7 separate regions of the Homo sapiens genome follow, and regions 1, 2, 3, 4, 5 and 6 are each linked to region 7. Evidence: promoter capture Hi-C in 16 types of primary human blood cells and fetal thymus (Javierre and others, 2016). All regions are on one chromosome and are shown on one strand. Each heading gives the region's core, a stretch centred on a gene start or on the middle of the fragment in contact. The rest is flanking DNA. Distances are from core to core; before and after follow the strand shown.

The links. Contacts are between HindIII fragments. The CHiCAGO score rates a contact against its expected background, and 5 or more counts as called.
Region 1: a fragment that was not itself captured here is called in contact with the fragment with the promoter of NSD3 in region 7 in 9 of 17 cell types (megakaryocytes, M2 macrophages, activated CD4 T cells and 6 more); the score reaches 9.9 in megakaryocytes.
Region 2: a contact is called between a fragment that was not itself captured here and the fragment with the promoter of NSD3 in region 7, in 2 of 17 cell types (erythroblasts and endothelial precursors). The highest score is 5.8, in erythroblasts.
Region 3: a fragment that was not itself captured here is called in contact with the fragment with the promoter of NSD3 in region 7 in 7 of 17 cell types (M2 macrophages, M0 macrophages, M1 macrophages and 4 more); the score reaches 26.1 in M2 macrophages.
Region 4: a contact is called between a fragment that was not itself captured here and the fragment with the promoter of NSD3 in region 7, in 3 of 17 cell types (fetal thymus, non-activated CD4 T cells and activated CD4 T cells). The highest score is 5.8, in fetal thymus.
Region 5: a fragment that was not itself captured here is called in contact with the fragment with the promoter of NSD3 in region 7 in 4 of 17 cell types (neutrophils, M2 macrophages, fetal thymus and 1 more); the score reaches 5.7 in neutrophils.
Region 6: a fragment that was not itself captured here is called in contact with the fragment with the promoter of NSD3 in region 7 in 1 of 17 cell types (neutrophils); the score reaches 5.2 in neutrophils.

What each region holds. Positions count from the first base shown.
Region 1 is chr8:38,777,960-38,780,659 of GRCh38, reverse strand. It overlaps a transcript of TACC1 not described here. Among named protein-coding and RNA genes, the nearest start is that of TACC1, 7.9 kb to the left of the region's middle. The HindIII fragment of the contact is 1,490 bases long and covers 599-2,088 here.
Region 2 is chr8:38,059,267-38,061,966 of GRCh38, reverse strand. It overlaps EIF4EBP1 (eukaryotic translation initiation factor 4E binding protein 1), which reads right to left. Exons shown (of 3, transcript NM_004095.4): 3 at 1,602-2,063. The coding sequence ends at 2,032. Among named protein-coding and RNA genes, the nearest start is that of EIF4EBP1, 30 kb to the right of the region's middle. The HindIII fragment of the contact is 3,672 bases long and covers 1-2,700 here.
Region 3 is chr8:38,718,578-38,721,277 of GRCh38, reverse strand. No RefSeq gene overlaps it. Among named protein-coding and RNA genes, the nearest start is that of TACC1, 67 kb to the left of the region's middle. RefSeq lists an enhancer at 1,124-1,645. The HindIII fragment of the contact is 1,528 bases long and covers 603-2,130 here.
Region 4 is chr8:38,025,491-38,028,190 of GRCh38, reverse strand. No RefSeq gene overlaps it. Among named protein-coding and RNA genes, the nearest start is that of EIF4EBP1, 3.7 kb to the left of the region's middle. The HindIII fragment of the contact is 5,744 bases long and covers 1-2,700 here.
Region 5 is chr8:38,797,580-38,800,279 of GRCh38, reverse strand. The region is part of intron 2 of TACC1 (transforming acidic coiled-coil containing protein 1); the gene reads right to left. Among named protein-coding and RNA genes, the nearest start is that of TACC1, 12 kb to the right of the region's middle. RefSeq lists enhancers at 2,397-2,556, 2,627-2,700. The HindIII fragment of the contact is 2,900 bases long and covers 1-2,700 here.
Region 6 is chr8:37,989,674-37,992,373 of GRCh38, reverse strand. No RefSeq gene overlaps it. Among named protein-coding and RNA genes, the nearest start is that of ADRB3, 24 kb to the right of the region's middle. The HindIII fragment of the contact is 5,430 bases long and covers 1-2,700 here.
Region 7 is chr8:38,380,975-38,383,674 of GRCh38, reverse strand. NSD3 (nuclear receptor binding SET domain protein 3) reads left to right here and starts at 1,404. Exons shown (of 24, transcript NM_023034.2): 1 at 1,404-1,876. It also overlaps a transcript of LETM2 not described here. RefSeq lists silencers at 498-847, 1,038-1,187, 1,218-1,617 and enhancers at 1,266-2,056, 2,347-2,700. The HindIII fragment of the contact is 5,398 bases long and covers 1-2,700 here.

The sequences.
Region 1 (2,700 bases), core at 94-2,593, 400 kb before region 7:
ACATATTTTAGATTTTGTAAAAAAAAAACAAAAAAAAACAACACCAACAAGAAGAGTGAAGAATAGACTAGTCCTACAAGACATTGAGACACATTTATGCAAAAATAGCCAGATCTTTGTTCTGTAACACAGAACAGAAAGCCCAGGAAAAGATCTTACAAGATACAGGAATTTATTATATACCAAAAAAGATGGCTTGAACCCGGGAGGCGGAGGTTGCAGTGAGCCAAGATCGTGCCACTGCACTCCAGCCTGGGCAACAGAGCGAGACTCTATCTCAAAAAAAAAGAACAAACAACAAAAATATAAAGAACATGTTACAATATGTAAGGAGAAGGAAGATTTATGATTGGAGCATAGTTGGCTGGCAATGGGAAAAAAGATCAAGTTAAACCCTTACCTCAGAGCATATACCAGGATAAATTCCAGATGGATTAGATGACTAAATAATAAAAATCGAACCATTGGGAGAAAACAGTCTACAAGCAACAGAATCTATCAGAGCTCTGTAGGAAGGATGAGGATCCAACTTACAAGTAATTAATGAAATCAGACACAAAATAAAGATAGATTTGGTTACATTTAAAAAAATGAAGCTTCTGACTGTGTGCCTTCAAGTTAAAAGGCAAACAACAGGCCATGGAAAAACAAAGGCTGTTAGTATTGTTATTACCTAAGGAACTCGTGAAAACAAGTAAGATCATTTAAGCCCCAAAAGAAAAGTGAACAATTATAACTGCTTACTATGTGTTAGACACTACACTTTACATGAATCGTCTCATTTAATCTCCCCCACTTACTCCTACAATCTCAGGAGGAAAGTATTGTTACGGCCTTTTTGTTGTTGTTAACAAGTTAACTTGGCTGCATTTCACCCTCTACAGCAGAGGCTTAGCAAGGAAGGGTTTCAGAAGGTCCTGGCCTCCCTGAAATTGTATGCAAAAAGTATGTGTGTGTGCATATTTGCATCAGTCTCTCCCTCTCCTCTTCCCCACATACAGTCAAGCCCCACTCCAGGAATAATGTTTTAGGTTGACTAAAGATTGATTTTCGAATCTGAAAGGGAACTAATATAAAATTCTTCAGTATAAGGAAGTACTGGCCAAAAAAGCCCTTATACGGAAAATCCAGACCTGCCAGAAGTTAGTGTAGAAAACAGCCAGCTTTGAAGACACCCGGAGGGTGGAAAAGGGCGGAGAGCAGGCCTAGCAGTGCTCACCACTCCAGGCAGGGTGTGCCCTTCCCCAAATGCCCAGTGGGAGCCCATGTTACTGGGCAGCCTGTGGGTTTCATCTAAGTGACTGTGTGGTGACCAAAGTGTGAAATGCTCATTTCAAGAAGGCATTTGCCAGTTGAGCCAAAGTACCATAAAAAAAGAGCATTTCAGCCAGGCATAGTGGCATCTTCCTATAATCCCAGCACTTTTGGAGGCTGAGGCAGGAGGATAACTTGAGCCCAGGACTTTGAGACCAGCCTGAGCAACATAGCAAAACCCCATCTCTATAAAAAAATTAAAAAGTAGCCAGGCGTGGTGGTGTTCGCCTGTAGTCCCAGCTAATCTTGAGCCCAGGAGGATCGCTTGAGCCCAGAAGGTCAAGGCTGAAGTAAGCCGTGATTGTGGCATTGCATTCCAGATTGGGTGACAGAGCGAGACCTTGTCTAAAAAGAAAAGAAAAAAAAAAAAAAAACCCAAGGACCCCTACTGATACAAATGAGAATCCTCAAAGGCACAAAAAATTGGGCCAGAGCATAAAAGGCATACTTTATGTGGGAGGTGCAAAAGGATTAATTTTAACATCTCTTTCTTTGGGATGCTCTTTCGCTATACTTCCTTTTAGGGTGGTTTCTTCCAAGAAACTATGTTGATGAGGGAAATGACACCCAGGAGCCTCTCCCCATCTGGGAAAAAGTAGCAAGGCTCAGCAAAGAAAGGAGGCATCAAACAGGTTGCCAAGGCCTGATTTTGTGAAGCAGGAAGCCTAAAAACTGGGGAAGCACTCTTTAAGAAAAATGCTAAAGGACCCCATGAACACAGTGCTAGGGCCACACTAGTATGAAGGGGCCCATGCAAGGGAGGGGACTGAAGCTTAGGCTTCCTCAGCTTCATAGTAAATTCAGCTCTGCCCAGAGAACAAAAGAGATTCCTGCCTGTGGCTCAGGAGTGGTTCAGCTGGCCTCAACTCAGTAAGTGAAATGTCCATTTATGGAGCGAGGGGGTCACACTGACCTCTGTCTTCTTAGAGGAAACAAAAATATTTAACTGTTGGAAACTGGATAAAACTGTCAAAAGATATCTCCTACACAGATTGTGAAACATAATTCATGGCTCTGTTCCTTCTGTACCCATTGTAAACACACACATACACACACACACACACACACACAATTTTAATTATTAAGATAAAAAAGCAAAAGGCCAGGTGTGGTGGCTCATGATTGTAATCCCAACACTTTGGGAGACGAAGGCAGGAGGATCGCTTGAGCCCAGGAGTTTGAGACCAGCCTGGACCACACAGTGAGAGCCCATCTCTACACACATGCACACACACAAAGATAAAAAAGAAAAACTATAATGCTTCTTTAACATTGTGTGTCTATGCACCTCTACTCTTTGAATTTCCACAAGATCACCATGGTAGAGCCTAATTCCCTCACCCCACATCCTGTATCCATCTGTATCCATCATTTCCTTATTTCTTC
Region 2 (2,700 bases), core at 178-2,677, 320 kb after region 7:
CATTTGTTAAAGTCATTCTCACCCATACAAACTGCCTGCTCTGACCAAAGCAGGCTACTATGTCTCTTCCCTGAACACCCCAGCTCCCCAAGACCATCTGAGCTTGGCAACACTGGGCCCCTGCCTCCCCCAACCCACTCATTCCCAGGGTCCAGCTGTAGCATCACCTCCATGAAGCCTCTACTCTGTCACTGGAGTGCAGTGGCACAATCGTGGCTCACCACAGCTTTGAACTCCTGGGCTCAAGTGTTCCTCCCACCTCAGCCTCCTGAGTGGCTAGGACCACAGGTGTGCACCACCATGTCTGGCTACTTAAAAAATTTTCTGTAGAGACGGGGTCTTACTGCGTTGCCCAGACTGGTCTCCCACTCCTGGCCTCAATCAATCCTCCCACCTCAGCCTCCCAAAATCCTGGGATTACAGGCTTGAACCACTGTGCCCAGCCTATGCTACCTTTACTTTCGGGCAAATCTTACATTTCAATGAAATTTTCAAGGCAGAGAGCTTGTCTGTGTTTGTGCCACACATGACAGCTCACACAAAGCGATCAATTGGCAAAGGTCGAGTGCCCGCAGATCAGATGCCACACTGGCCAAGGCAGGGGCTCTTCCCTTTGACTCTTGCATGGAATGGGCCCTGACGGGAAGGTGCCAAACTCGACAGGCTTGGGGTTGAGAGAAGGGGGAGAAAGCACAGAAGCGAGGCAGCTGCCTTGCTACTGAAAAACAAGAGATCAAGAATACCAGGGTATGGGCTGGGCGTGGTGGCTCACATCTGTCATCCCAACAATTTGGAACGCTGAGGTGGGAGGATCACTTGAGACCAGGAGTTCAAGACCAGCCTGGGCAACATAGCAAGACCTTATCTCTACTCACAAAAAACTTAGCCAGGTGGTGGTGTGAACTTGTAGTCCCAGCTACTCAGGAGGCTGAAGCAGGAGGATTGCTTGAACCTAGGAGTTTGAGGCTGCAGTGAGCTAGGACTGTGCCACTGCACTCCAGCCTGGGAGACAGAGCAAGACTTCGTCTCGGAAAAAAAAAAAAAAAAGAGTAGCAGGACTCAAATCCAGTCCCATGTGCCATTCAGCAGCTGCACGATTTTACCTGTTCTTGTGCCAGTCTTCTCAGCTGTAAAGTGAGGATAACAGTTGTTCTACTTACCCACAGGATCAGAGTCAGAATCAAATAAGGACAGGCCCACGCTTTAGAAGCACTGTACAAGGCTGGGCACGGTGGCTTACACCTGTAATCCCAGCACTTTGGGAGGCCAAGGCGGGTGGATCACCTGAGGTCAAGAGTTCGAGACCAGCCTGGCCAACATGGTGAAACCCTGTCTCTACAAAAATACAAAAAAATACTAGCTGGGCATGGTGGCGGGCACCTGTAATCCCAGCTACTCGGGAGGCTGAGGCAGGAGAATTGCTTGAACCCAGGAGGTGGAGGTTGCAATCAGCTGAGATTGCGCCATTGCACTCCAGCCTGGGCCACAAGAGTGAAACTCCGTCTCAAAAAAAAAAAAAAAAAAAAAGCAGCAGCACTGTACAGATAGCAGCTGGTGTTAGTTACCAAACAGAGTTGAAAAAAGCTCAGACGGGGCCCAACTCTTGGCCCTAGGGCGAAGGTGGCTTTTATTTCCTCTCTTGGGGAAGGAGGGGGAGGGAGCTTTCCCAAGCACATCAACCTAAGGAAGGGGTGGTTGCGCCCCCAGCAGCGAGGGGCTGGAACTGCTGATCATTCGGAAGGAAGGGTTCGTTCTTGTCCACTTCCTGGCCCTTGGCTGCAGGGTGTGCTGGCAGGGGTCACTCCCCTTGGGGTGGCAGCTCCTGCATCAGTGGAGGCACAAGGAGGTATCTGCTGGTGTTCACGAAGAGGAGGGGGCAGGTGCCCTGAGTGAGGGAGAAAGGGCTGGGGTGTCCGACCCCACGCCAACGCCTGCCCAGTATGATCACTTTCATAAGGCCTGGCTGGTGGGACTCCTCCCAGGAAGGCCCTGAGGGGCCCCTTGGTAGTGCTCCACACGATGGCTGGTGCTTTAAATGTCCATCTCAAACTGTGACTCTTCACCTGGGGAGAGAGGGGACAGAGGGCCAGGTCAACAATGGGTGAATGCTTGGTATATGAGGCCATTCTTTCATTGCTATAAAGAAATACCTGAGGTTGGGTAATTTATAAAGAAAATAAGTTTTTTTTTGTTTTTTTGTTTTTTTTTTTTGAGATGGAGTCTCACTCTGTCTCCGAGGCTGGAGTGCAGTGGCCCAATTTCGGCTCACTGCAACCTCCGCCTCCTGGGTTCAAGCGATTCTCCTACCTAAGCCTCCCAAAAGAGTAGCTGGGATTATAGGCACCCACCACCACACCCAGCTAATTTTTGTATTTTTAGTAGACCCGGGGTTTTGCCATGTTGGCCAGGCTGGTCTCGAACTCCTGATCTCAGATGATCCACCCTCCTCAGCCTCCCAAAGTGCTGGGATTACAGGTGCGAGCCACCGTGCCCAGCCAAGAAAAGAGGTTTAACTGGCTCGCGGTTCTGCAGGCTGTACAAGCATGACGCCGGCCTCAGCTTGGCTTCTGGGGAGGCCTCAGGGGGCTTTTCGTCATGGTGGAAAGCAAAGCGGGAGCAGGCATGTCACATGGAGGAAGCAGGAGCAAGAGAGAGGGTGGAGTGGCGCTCCCACACTTTACAACAACCAGATCTCGAGAG
Region 3 (2,700 bases), core at 117-2,616, 340 kb before region 7:
TATCCACATTTCCAAACTTCCCCACTCTGGAAACCACAAGCATTTCGTAACTGTGGGGCAGCAAAACCTGACCTCAACTGACCTGAAGTTACGTACTATCCTACTTAGCTTGAATATTCTTACATTTCGCTGCAGAAAGGGTTTATATGTTTGATTACAAGGTGCTCCCCTAGCCCACTCGGGGTTTGATATAATAAAAGGTATATTGGGTTGTGTCACTGTGTGCGGAATTGGTGGGTTCTTGGTCTCACTGACTTCAAGAATGAAGTCGGGGACCCTTGCGGTGAGTGTTACAGTTCTTAAAGGCAGCGTGTCCGGAGTTTGTTTGTTCTGATGTTTGGATGTGTTCGGAGTTTCTTCCTTCTGGTGGGTTTGTGGTCTCGCTGGATCAGTAGTGAAGCTGCAGACCTTCGTGGTGAGTGTTACAGCTCTTAAGGCGGCGCGTCTGGAGCTGTTCGTTCCTCCCGGTGGGTTCGTGGTCTCGCTGGCTTCAGGAGTGAAGCCGCAGACCTTCACGGTGAGTCTTACAGCTCATAAAGGCAGTGTGGACCCAAAGAGTGAGCAGCAGCAAGATTTATTGCAAGGAGCAAAAGAACAAAGCTTCCATAGTGTTGAAGGGGACCCCAGCAGGGTGCCACTGTTGGCTCCAGCAGCCTGCTTTTATTCTCTTATCTGGCCCCACCCACATCCTGCTGATTGGTCCATTTTACAGAGAGCAGAGTGGTCTGTTTTGACAGGGTGCTGATTGGTGCGTTTACAATCCCTGAGCTAGACACAGAGGTTCTCCACCTCCCCACCAGATTAGCTAGATACAGTGTGGACACAAAGGTTCTCCAAGTCCCCACCAGAGTAGCTAGATATAGAGTGTCCATTGGTGCATTCACAAACCCTGAGCTAGATAGACACAGGGTGCTGATTGGTGTGTTTACAAACCTTGAGCTAGATACAGAGTGCAGATTGGTGTATTTACAATCCCTTAGCTAGACATAAAGGTTCTCCACGTCCCCACCAAACTCAGGAGCCCAGCTGGCTTCACCCAGTGGATCGGGCACCGGGGCTGCAGGTGGAGCTGCCTGCCAGTCCCACGCCGTGCGCCTGCACTCCTCAGCCCTTGGGTGGTCGGTGGGACTGGGCGCCGTGGAGCAGGGGGCGGCGCTCGTCGGGGAGGCTAGGGCCGCAAAGGAGCCCACAGAGGCGGGGGAGGCTCAGGCATGGCGGGCTGCAGGTCCCGAGCCCTGCCCCGCGGGAAGGCAGCTAAGGCCCGGCGAGAAATTGAGCCCAGCAGCTGCTGGCCCAGGTGCTAAGCCCCTCACTGCCCGGGGCCGGTGGGGCCCGCCAAGCCCATGCCCACCCGGAACTCGCGCTGGCCCGGAAGCACCGCGCGCAGCCCCGGTTCCCGCCCGCGCCTCTCCCTCCACACCTCCCCGCAAGCTGAGGGAGCCGGCTCCGGCCTTGGCCAGCCCAGAAAGGGGCTCCCACAGTGCAGTGGCAGGCTGAAGGGCTCCTCAAGTGCGGCCAAAGTGGGAGCCCAGGCAGAGGAGGCGCCGAGAGCGAGCGAGGGCTGTGAGGACTGCCAGCACGCTGTCACCTCTCATTACCTTCCTAAAACCTGAGAAAATCCAGAATCCCGAAGTACACCCGGCTCTAGGGTAAGAGATTGTAAATCTGAACTACTGACTGTAAAGGGAGGGAGGAGGGAGGAAAGAAGGGAGGGAGGAGGGACGAAGGTACTTTAGTGAAATTGATCTTATCTTGTTTCTCCCCTAGCCATTATCAATAACACACATACTTCTACAAAAGGAGGACTTCCATTCCAAATACAAGATATTATGTACTTTTTCATTTCTCTCTTTAGGGTTCCCTCCACCATCCATTCGGTTGCACACACCGGAAGGGCGTAAAGGGTTTTATAAGGATGAAGGGAGACACCTTGCCTGAAGCACCTGGGCGGCCCCAAGGACTCTTCTTCCTCCTACCCAAGCCAATCAGACTTGGAGTCCTGGCAAATCAGAGAAATCCCGGGGGAAAAACAAAGAATCTCTGTTGATACACTCACATCATTCATTCATTTGATACATACATATTAAGCACCTACTTAATATGTGCCAGATACTCTGTGATTAATAAGCTTATTGTCTCCTGCTGACCCTGTGCCATCCCCGGGTAGACTCGGGGATTGTCTTGGGCTCTGCAAATTACTCAGCACTTTGGGAGGCCAAGAGGAGAGGATCACTTGAGCTCAGGAGCTTGAGACCAGCCTGGACAACACGACGAGACCTTGTCTCTACAAAAAAATTTTAAAAATTAGCCAGGAGGATGGCTTGAGGCCGAAAGTTGCTGACCAGCCTGGGCAACGTAGTGAGACTCCTTTCTACAAAAAAAAAATTAAAAATTAGGTGGGTGTGGTGGCGGGTGCCTGTAGTCCCAGCTACTCAGAGGCTGAGGTAGGAGCATTGCTTGAGCCCAGGAGGTCAAGGCTGCACTAAGTCATGATTGCGGCACTGCACTCCAGCCTGGGATACAGACTGAGACCCTGTCTCAAAACAGAAGAAGAAGGAGAAGGAGGAGGAAGAGTAGGAGGAGGAGGCTACAGCAGGTGCTGCTAAAGGGAAGAGGAAAAACCCACTCGTAGACTCAGTCCATAGCTGTCTTTTCCACCATCCCTAAACTTTTAATCATATCCTTGATTTTCACTCTGAA
Region 4 (2,700 bases), core at 113-2,612, 360 kb after region 7:
TGGTCCCAGCTACTTTCAAGGATGAGGTAGGAAGATGACCTGAGCCCCAGAGGTGGAGGTTGCCATGAGCCAAGATTGCACCACTGCACTCCAGCCAGGGCTCAAAAAATAAATAAATAATATAAGATAAAAATAGACCAGGCCTTGCTGGTTGCAGCGATGTGCACTTGTAATCCCAGCCCTAGCTGGGATTACAAGGCCAGAGGATTGCTTGAGGCCGGGAGTTCAGAGACCAGCCTGGGCAACATAGTAAGACCTTGTTTCAAAAAAGAGAGAGTTTCAGGCCGGGTGTGGTGGCTCACGCCTGTAATCCCAACACTTTGGTAGGCCGAGGGGGGCAGATCACGAGGTCAGGAGATTGAGACCATCCTGGCTAACACGGTGAAACCCCATCTCTACTAAAAATACGAAAAAAAAAAATTACCCGGGCATGATGGCAGACGCCTGTAGTCCCAGCTACTCGGGAGGCTAAGGCAGGATAATCGCTTCAAACTGGGAGGCAGAAGTTGCAGTGGGCTGAGATCGTGCCACTGCACCCATCCTGGGTGACAGAGCGAGACTCCATCTCAAAAAAAAAAAGAGTTTCACTCTGTTGCCTGGGCTGGAGTGCAGTGGCTAATTATAGGCACAATCATAACTCAGTGCAGCTTCCAACTCCTGGGCTCAAGCCATCCTCCCACCTCAGCCTCCCCAGTGGCTGGGATTACAGGTGCATGCCACTGCACTTGGCTAATTAAAGAAAAGAATTTTTTGGCCGGGCGAGGTGGCTCATGCCTGTAATCCCAGCACTTTGGGAGGCCGAGGCAGACAGATCACCTGAGGTCAGGAGACCACCTGGCCAACATGGTGAAACCCTGTCTCTACTAAAAATACAAAAATTAGCCAGGCGTGGTGGTGTGTGCCTGTAATCCCAGCTACTCAGGAGGCTGAGACAGGAGAATCACTTGAACCCAGGAGGCATAGGTTGCAGTGAGCCAAGATCCTGCCACTACACTTTAGCCTGGGCAACAGCAAGACTCCATCTCAAAAAAAAAAAAATTTTTGTAGAAATGAGATCTTGCTATGTTACCTAGGTTGGTCTCAAACTCCTGGCCTCAAGTGATCCTCCCTCCTCAGCCTCTTAAAGTTTTGGGATTACAGGCATGAGCCACTGTGACTGGCCCCTCTACCTTTTTCTAGAGCAGGAACTCATTCATATGGAAAAAACAGCTTTTATCTGAGGAATGGGAATCCTTTTAAATTATCAGGCCTAGACATTAAAATGAGACAGCAATCACGTCCCACTACCCCCTTTTGAGCTATGTATTCATCTCTTGAAACTGCTTGCTATTGTCACAAGTAGCCATAAATTAACCTATTAATAATAATGCTGCACTAAAGACTATATAGGGTGTGGACACTATAACTTAACAGTGTATAGCCAAGGCTGGGTGCAGTGGCTTACTCCTATGATTTCCACACTTTGGCAAGCCAAGGTGAGAGGATGGCTTGAGGCCAGGAGTTTGAGACCAGCCTGGGCAACAGAGAGACCCTCCCCCTTCATCTCTACAAAAAAATTTTTAAAATGTGGCCGGGAGTTGTAGCTCACGCCTATAATCCTAGCACTTTGCGAGGCCGAGGCAGGCGGATCACCTGAGGTCAGGAGTTTGAGACCAGTCTGGCTAACATGGTGAAACCCCGTCTCTACTAAAAATGCAAAAAGTAGCCAGGTGTGGTGGTATGCGCCTGTAGTCCCAGCTACTAGGGAAGCTGAGACAGGAGAATCGCTTGAACCTGGGTGGCAGAGGTTGCACTGAGCCAAGATCACGCCACTGCACTCCAGCCTGGGTGACAGAGTGCCTCATCTCAAAAATAAAATAAAATTAAAAATTAAAAATCAATGTATGGAGAATGATTAATTGATACTATTTCTGTAAACCAATGAGATTTCTTGACAGACCACTTTGTATCAGAACCTATTGCCTTAAACTTGTAACTTGTAAACTTGTAATTCCTGTTAATTGGAGTGTATATTCAGGACATGAATCTATGCTCCTGGGTTGCAGTCCTCAAGTTTAGCCCAAATAAACTCCCTACTTATATTAATTTTGCCTCAGCTTCTTCCTTAGGTTGACAATATCAAGTCTTGTAATTGAGTAGAAAAGGACATAGGAAAAAAACCCAAATTCTTCTTCTTCTTCTCACATGTCCAACTCCACACTCAGACACCAGCTGGGTGAGGTTTCCTCCTTACACAGCAACCGAGCAATTTGGCCAAGGTAGATTCTCCAAGGGACACCAGCTCGATGTCCTCTAATTCAGTCAAATTCTGACATTATCTGCCTGGAGATAGTGCAAGATCCCACAGGTTAAGGGCTCAGTCCTACAAGACTGCCCCCCACTTGAGATGTCAGTCAAAAGTACAGCCTGTGATCTGTGCTTCTGACAACCCGGGCCTTGGGTTTGATTCATTTGCTAGAGTGGCTCACAAAACTCAGGGAAACACTTAGGTTTCCCGGTATTTTATAAAGAGTATTACAAAGAAGCAAGGCACAGGCACGTACGCGCCTGTAGTCCTAGCTATTTGAGAGGCTGGGGTGGGAGAATCACTTGAGCTCAGGAGTTTGAGGCCAGCCTGGGCAACATAGTGAGGCTTCATCTCTAAGTATAAATAAATAATCTAGTGATTTTTAAATTATTATTATTATTGTTTGAGACACA
Region 5 (2,700 bases), core at 186-2,685, 420 kb before region 7:
GTATGGCAGGTAAACTATATCTCAATAAAACTATTTTTAAAAAAGAACATGGAGGCTCAGACCCGAGGGAAATGGAGCAGGAGGAATGTCCTGTGATTTCTAGTAAAATGTTCAACTATACCACACAGATTTGCTCTGTTGTCCAGGCTGGAGTACAGTGGGGCGATTACGGCTCACTGGAGCCTCAACCTCCCAAGCTCAAGTGATCCTCCCACCTTAGCCTTCTGAGCAGCTGGGACTAAAGGCACAAGCCATCATGCCCTGCTAATTTTTTGTTTGTTTGTTTTTGGTAGAGTCGGGGTCTCATTTTGTTGCCCAGGCTGGTCTCAAGCAATCCTCCTGCTTTGGCCTCCCAAAGTGCTGGGATTACAGGAGTGAGCCAGCACACACATCCAAAGTACATGCTTTAAATAGTGTCTTATGTGTGTCACTTGGAGAGACACATGCTTGAGAGAGGTGGTAGGTCTCACCATCCCATCAATTTGGGGTTTTAAATTTCTCTTGAGGAAGCCCACATGTGCTACATAAATTCTATTTACAGAAAGAGGTGAAAAAAATGACATCATCCCTCTTTTCCACAACAGATGTAGCCAAGTATGGTATATGAAACATCCTAGAGTTATAATTGTCAAGCCCAAAAGGCTTTTTTTACTTTGTGGGCAGGGGGATTTTTAAAATTCTAACTTTTAACATTTGCCTTCTTCCTTTTAACATTTGACCTCCAGATTTGCGGGGGAATTTCTTCCCTCACAAATTCCCTATCTTTTGCTGCTAAAACTTCTTGGGATGCCAAGGCGGCCAAGAGGTCTGGGAAACAGGACAGGGCTAGCTCCCTCCAGACTCGGAGCCCCACAGGGGCCTTACTCTTTGTATCCCTGGGAGCAGAAACTGAGCGTCCAAGACAGAGCTGATGCTCAATCAGTGCCCACTGCAGGGCAAGTGTCTGATACATAAAGGACTCCTCCTCACCTCATCTGTCGCATACTGAGAAGGCCTAGCTAATTGTTCAGTGATGCCGCAGCTCAGCTCTAGGCTAACGGCTGGGGGATGGCTTGGCATAGCTCTTCCCTTGGCCCTTTGCCCTGAAGGTCCCACTCCTCCTTTCCGTGCCTTGGTCTTGCCCTCCCAGCTCTCCTCCCCCACACTGAATCAAGGGCTTCAGGAGGGAAACAAGCGTGATTCTGGCACCAACCCTTTCTGCTCAAGTGGTCTGCCCTGAGGAGACTGTTAATCAGATGTATATTAGCATTAATGCTAAAAGTCCAAAATTTGAGTGTTTTTTTCCCCCAGTTTCATGTCTTTGGGTTCCCAGTCTCTCTGATTCCTCCAAAGTTGAAGTGTATTTTATATATGTTCGTTCTCACTTAGTCATCAGCCTTAAAATGGAGAAGTACACAATTTATTGTCCAGGGTTGGAACAACCGTACAATAGGCCCTTTTCCAGGAATGCGGGATACAATCTAAGGGTATGGGCTGCATAGCTCACATTTCCCCAACAACTGCTGGGGCCCAGGATCCCCGGAAGCATGGGAGAGGGGTGGGTCAGCGGGATTCTGAGTGGGTGAGTCAAGGCAGACCATCCTCTTAGGTACATCATAGTTTTAAGCTGTCTCACCAACCAAAGCAGAAAAATACACATACACACACACACACACACACACACACACACACACGCAGAACCCAGACAACAAACTACCTGTTTAAACCCCTTCCTAACCTCCAAAAAACCCCCAAACAAAAACATTACCCAGAAGTCACGGTAGGGCAAATTTCATTGCTTTTTTAAGAGACAGGGCACCAGCTACACTGCTGTTCTCCTGAGATAAGCCTCTAACTCCTGAGAGAGGCTCCCCCTAAAACCTAAGACTCTACAGGTAAAGAATAATCTGGAAAACCACTTGGTAAACTGAAAAAAGTTTGTACTAAGGATGAAGAAAGCACTTCAAATTTCCAAAACAGCACTTTATGCTATTTTATTTAAAAAGACACCCAAGCCAGGTGTAGTGGTACACGCCTGTAGTCCCAGCTACTCGGAAGGCTGAGTCAGGAGGATCCCTTAAGACTGGGAGTTGAGGCTGCAGTGAGCTATGATTGTACCACCACACTCCAGCCTGGGCAACACAGCAAGACCCTGTCTCTAAAAAAAAAAAAGGAAGAAAAATAAAAAGAGACCCAAACCGTATCTCTAAAGGCCAAGATTATAAGGTAAGAGGATGGGACTTGCTTATCAGGAAGTGTCCACCCACCAGGAAGCCAAAGCCTCCTCCAGAGAAGCCAATCCAGCAATGAATGTGTCTTCTCTTCTCACTCATGAGATGCCCATGGGTTCTGGAACCATCTGGATTTGTTTGAGGTTATATTTTAGACAGAGTAGAAATCCCCTTCCACAGACAGAAATCATAGAAGGCCCTCCCCACAAAACTTCTCCCCCATCCCCAACCTATTCTGGCAGGAAGAGCAAGGGGGGAAAGAGCACGTGCTAACAGATGGGGCTCCTGTGCAGAGATCTGGGATTGTGTAACTTCAATCTGTTGCTGCCAAACAACCATAATGTGCATCTCTTCAGAAATAATTACTGGAAAATTCAAAATACCAACTGCCTCTCTCACAAAGTAGCAACCACCCACATGGAGCTGAGAAGCTGATGCTGGATAAAGAAGAAGAGGGAGGAATGTTCAGCAAGAGAGGGGCCTCCAGACA
Region 6 (2,700 bases), core at 84-2,583, 390 kb after region 7:
CTCATTCTTCTCCTTCCTGCTGCCATGTGAAGAAAGACATGTTTGCTTCCCCTTCCTCCAAGATTGTAAGTTTCCTGAGGCCTCCTCAGACCTGTGGAATTGTGAGTTAATTAAACTTCTTTTCTTTATAAATTACCCAGTCTTGGGTATGTCTTTATAGCAGTGTGAGAACAGACACAGGCACATGCCACCACATCTGGGTAATTTTTTTGTATTGATGGGGTTTTGCCATGTTGTCTAGTCTGGTCTGGAACTCCTGGACTCAAGCAATTCACCTGCCTTGGCCTCCCAGAGTGCTAGGATTACAGGCATGAGCCACTGCACCTGGCCCAGGCCTCTCTTCATATGTGGTGAAGGATGTGGGACCTGATGATTTCCAAAGCCTTTTGCAGTTCTAGATTCTATAACTTGGCCAAAGCCTTTGTGATCTGGTGGACACAGAGGTTGAGATCAAGATAAAATAGATATTCTCCCAAAAGAGGAATCTGCAGGCCTGGATGGTTTCACTGGATAATTCATTCAAACACTCATAGAACAGCAGACATCTCTTTTGCACAACCTTTTCCAGAAAATAGAGGAGGGAACACTTGCTAACTGATTTTATGACACCAGTATTGTCTTATTATTATTATTATTTGGGATGGAGTTTCACTCTCGTCACCCAGGCTGGAATGCAATGGTGTGAACTTGGCTCACTGCAATCTCCACCTCCCAGGTTCAAGTGATTCTCCTGCCTCAGCCTCCCAAGTAGCTGGGATTACAGGTGTAAGCCACCACACCCAGCTAATTTTTGTAGTTTTAGTAGAGACAAGGTTTCAACTTGTTGGCCAAGTTGGTCTCTAACTCCTGACCTCAAGCAATCCACCCTCCTTGACCTCCCAAAGTGCTGGGATTACAGGTATGAGCCACTGTTCCCGGCCAATTTTATGAGACCAAAAACAGACAAAGGGCCGGGTGCGGTGGCTCATGCATGTAATCCCAGCACTTTGGGAGGCCGAGGCAGGCAGATCATAAGGTCAGGAGATCGAGACAATCCTGGCCAACATAGTGAAACCCCGTCTCTACTAACAGTACAAAAATTACCTGGGCTTGGTGGCAGGTGCCTGTAATCCCAGCTACTGGGGAGGCTGAGGCTGGAGAATCGCTTGAACCTGGAGGCAGAGGTTGCAGTGAGCCGAGATCACGCCACTCTACTCCAGCCCGGCAACAGAGTGTGACTCCATCTAAAAAAAAAACCAAAACAAACAACAACAACAACAACAACAAAACAGACAAAGGCAGTACTAAAATGGAAAACTCTAGAGCAATATCTCCCATGAACTTAGATGTAAAATCCTTAATAAAATATTAGCAAATTGAATCTATCAACGTAAAAGAATTATAAATATAAGCTCCAGCACAGTGGCTCATGCCTGTAATCCTAGCACTTTAGCAGGCCATGGTAGGCAGATCTCTTGAACCCAGGAGTTTCAGACCAGCCTGGGCAGCATGGTGAAACTCCATTGCTACAAAAAATAGAAAAATGAGCCAGGGATGGTAGTGCATGCCTGTAGTCCTAGCTACTCCGGAGGCTGAGGTGGGAAGATCACCTGACCCTGGAGAGGTCGAGGCTGCAGTGAGCTGTAATCGTGCCACTGCACTCCATCTTGGGTGACAGAGTGAGACTCTGTCTCAAAAAAATAAAATAAAAATAGAATTACTAATATAAGTATAACAATAATTATATACTGTAACCAAGTAGGACTTATTCCCATTATATAGGCTGGTACAACACTCAAAAGTCTGCCATCAAGAAAGGAAGGTAAAAAAACAAGTCTTCCATATCAAGTGATCAATAGAGTTTAGATATTTAAAAAGTCCACCATATCAACAAGCTAAAGAAAAAAATCATATAATCATATCAGTTGGTGAAGAAAAAGCATTTGATGAAATCTAGCGCACATTTATGATAAAAACTCTCAGCAAGTTAGGAATAGAGGGCAACTACCTTAACTTGATAAAGAGCATCTACAAAAAACCTGACAGCCCACATCATAGTGAATGGTGAAAGACTGAATGCTTTCTCCCTAAGACTGGGAAAAAGGTAAGGATGCCTGCTCTCCCCTCTCTTATTCACCCTAGTTCTGAAAGTTCTAGCCACTGCAATAAGACAAGAAAAAGAAATAAAGGACATATGAAATGGAAAGGAAGAAATAAAACTGTTTCTCTTTGCAGATGACATGATTGTCTATAAAGAAAATCCGAAATAATCTACAAAATAAAGCTGACCCCCAAACCAAAACCCTCTTATAATTGGTTGTGAATTAAACAGGTTACAAGATACAAGATCAACACACAAAAATCCATCATGTTTATGTATACTAACAACAAACATGTGGAAACTGAAATTTAAAACACTGCATCATTTACAAATGGTCCAAAGAAAGTGAAACACTTAAGCATAAGCTGAACAAAACTTGCACAGGCTCTGCAAGCTGAAAATTACAAAATGTTGATGAAATAATTTATTTATTTATTTATTTATTTATTTTGTGATGGAGTCTTGCTCTTTGCCCAGGCTGGAGTGCAGTGGCTTGATCTCAGCTCACTGCAACATCTGCCTCCTGAGTTCAAGTGATTCTCCTGTCTCAGCCTCCTGGGTAGCTGGGGTTACAGGCACGTGCCACCACCCCCAGCTAATTTTTGTATTTTTAGTAGAGA
Region 7 (2,700 bases), core at 155-2,654:
ACAGGCGTGAGCCACTGCGCCCAGCCAATACTGATAATTCTCAGTATCTAGTATTAACCGGGTTACGTTTAAAAAAAATAGTTCATAATTAGTGCCCTTTTAAATAACTGATCTGTAGAAATCATTTAATTTCCTTAAGTGATATTTAAAGATAGAGATATCTAATTTCTTGTAATAGTACCAAAGACATCCAGCACTATAACGTCTACAGAGTATGACGTCTAGCGGTAAAATGGCTTTATTCTCAGAACAGAGTATCGGTTTCCTCATTTGCTTGCTGCCTCTGTTTCCTTTTTACGTTCACGTCTCTGTGCTGTAACCTTCCAAATCCTTATCACCAGGCCCCAGGAAATATCACCTGGTCGGCACACTCCTGCAGGGCCAGATCACTGTGCACACACTTAACCTTCCATTGTTTTCCATACGTTTCCTAGGATGCGGGGGGCTAGAGGATGACGGAGAGTTGCCTCCCGGTTCTTCCTCTCGTTCTTATCTTGGGCCCTCTAGGACAAATGTCCCTCACGTCCCTCGATGCGAAGGTCTGGCCGCGAGCAGCCGCGGCCTCCGGCACGTGACGGTCACGGAGCCGTCGCGGTCCCCCGCGGCTGGGGGGCACCCGGGGATGCGGCGGGCGCTGACGTCGTCCTCCCGGTTACCCACAAGCCTCCGGGCCGCAGCAGAGCAGGAAGAGGCGCGCGGGGCCGGCGCCTGCCGGGGAGGTCGAGGCGCTCCCTCGGCGAGCCGGCGCCGCCGGCCGGGTCTCCTACTGCTTGCAACCGGGGGAGGGGGACCATCCGACAGCTCAGCCGGGGCTGAGAGGGAGACGACGCCAAGGCGGTCTTGCATCGCCCCCGGCTTTCCAAATGCAGACCCTACCGGAACCGGAGCCCTTCCCTGACAGCCGTAGGACGGGAGACGGCCGAGGGGTCGCCTGGACTGCCCCGCCCTCGCGCGGTGACCCACCGGGGACCGTGCGAGGGTCGCTTCTAACCCTTAAGAGCTAGAGAGCCGAGTCACCCTGAGGAGCGCCGTATGGCGCTGGTTGCGCGTTGTTCTTTAATCAGCCTCACTGAACGCGCCGATCCCAGTTTTACCTCCCGGGCCCCACCTTTCCACGCCTCCTCCGGCTTCCCGGGGTGTTTTGTGTGTCACTCTCCCACGTACAGTCCCTCCCCGTCCCTCGTTCCTCGGCCCTCTCGCCCGGTCTCCCTAGTCGTCCAGACGCTAGCTGCCGCGGGCGTTCCTGGTTCGCGCTCCCGCCCCCTCCGCCCCGCCGACTCGCCGCTTCCTCCGGAGCCCCAGCGTCCCGAACCAGGGACTGCATTTCCCGGCAGGCGCCGCGGCCCGCGGCCAATGAGGGGCTGAGGATTTGGCGGCGGCGGCGCCCCGAGAGTCGGGGTGGGGGGGCTTTGTGCGCGGCGGCGGCGGGAGAGGCGGCGGCGGCGGCCAGCACGGAGGCGGAGGCCGAGGGGGCTGTGCACAGGTCGCCGCGGAGAGGCGTGCGAATTCCGAGCCGAGCGCCGAGGACCGTGCTACCCAGGCCGGGCTGCCAGCCGCAGGCTCCTCTCTGGCAGCAGCGGCGGCGCGGCGACCCCCGTCCCTCGGCCTCCCCTTCCCATCCCACCTCCCGAGCCTTCCTCTTCCCGCAGCACGCCCGGCCCGGCCCGGCCGTGGCCCTCCTCAGTGCCGGCCGCCATGGCAGAGGCGTCCGGCGCGGGGAAAATCTAGCCCGGGGATTTCATGCGGCCTAGCTCGGTTCCGCCTCCTCCTCGCGCGGCCCCAGCGGCTGCCCGCACCCCAGCCCCACTCCGGGCCTCCGTGTCTCTCCTGTGATCGCACTGACACGGCCGGGGGGTTAGAATGGAACAAACTGAAGGTAAAGTGCGTGTGCGTGTGTGTATGTGTGTGTGTGTGTGTGTGTGTGTGTGCGCGCGCGCGCGTGTGTAGTGCTAGGAAGGGCTGAGGAGGGAACGACGGGGAGGGGGCGACCTAGGGATGGAGCGCCAGACCCCAGGAGGAATGGAAGGGGAAGCGGGTGGCCTGAAAGGGCTCGAGGGGAGTCCTGACGGAGGAGCAGATGGCAAGGTGGGGGGTGTGGAGGGAATTGGGGGGTGGGCCAGGGGAGGTGGGGAGTGGGATGGGAGTCGGAGTGGCGCTGAGCTGGGAATTGGGAAAGTGGGATGGGGGCGGGGATAAGGATGGATCGGGGAGGGGCAGGGAAAGGGGAGAAGAGTTGCATGGAGATTACAGACCTGGGTGGACTGATAAATAGGGAGATTTGGGGATGGAGTGTAGGAACCAGAAGAGTCTGGGAGAAGGGGATAAATTTGCTGGAGAAATGGGGCATTTTATGGGAATGAAGGGAGAAATGAGGAATGGAAGTGAAGGAAAAGGTGGATTAGGAAAGGGGATGAGGCAGGCTGCAATAGGAGAATGGGAAATAGACGCAGGAAACTGGAAGACAGGATTGGGCTAGGGAAGGAAATTAACTGAATGATGACAGGGATGAGAACGATCGACTTAGCGTCAGAGTGGGAGGAAGAGAAGGGGATGGAGGTCGTTAAAGTGTTAGGAAGGGAGGCCTTTTGTTCCTGTATTTGTGTGTATTCTGTGTCTTTCTTTCAAGGCTAGAGAATAGAGAAGCTGGTGGTTATGGGATTGTGATTGTTGTGAAATGGGGAGGTGTGGGTTTTACTGTTT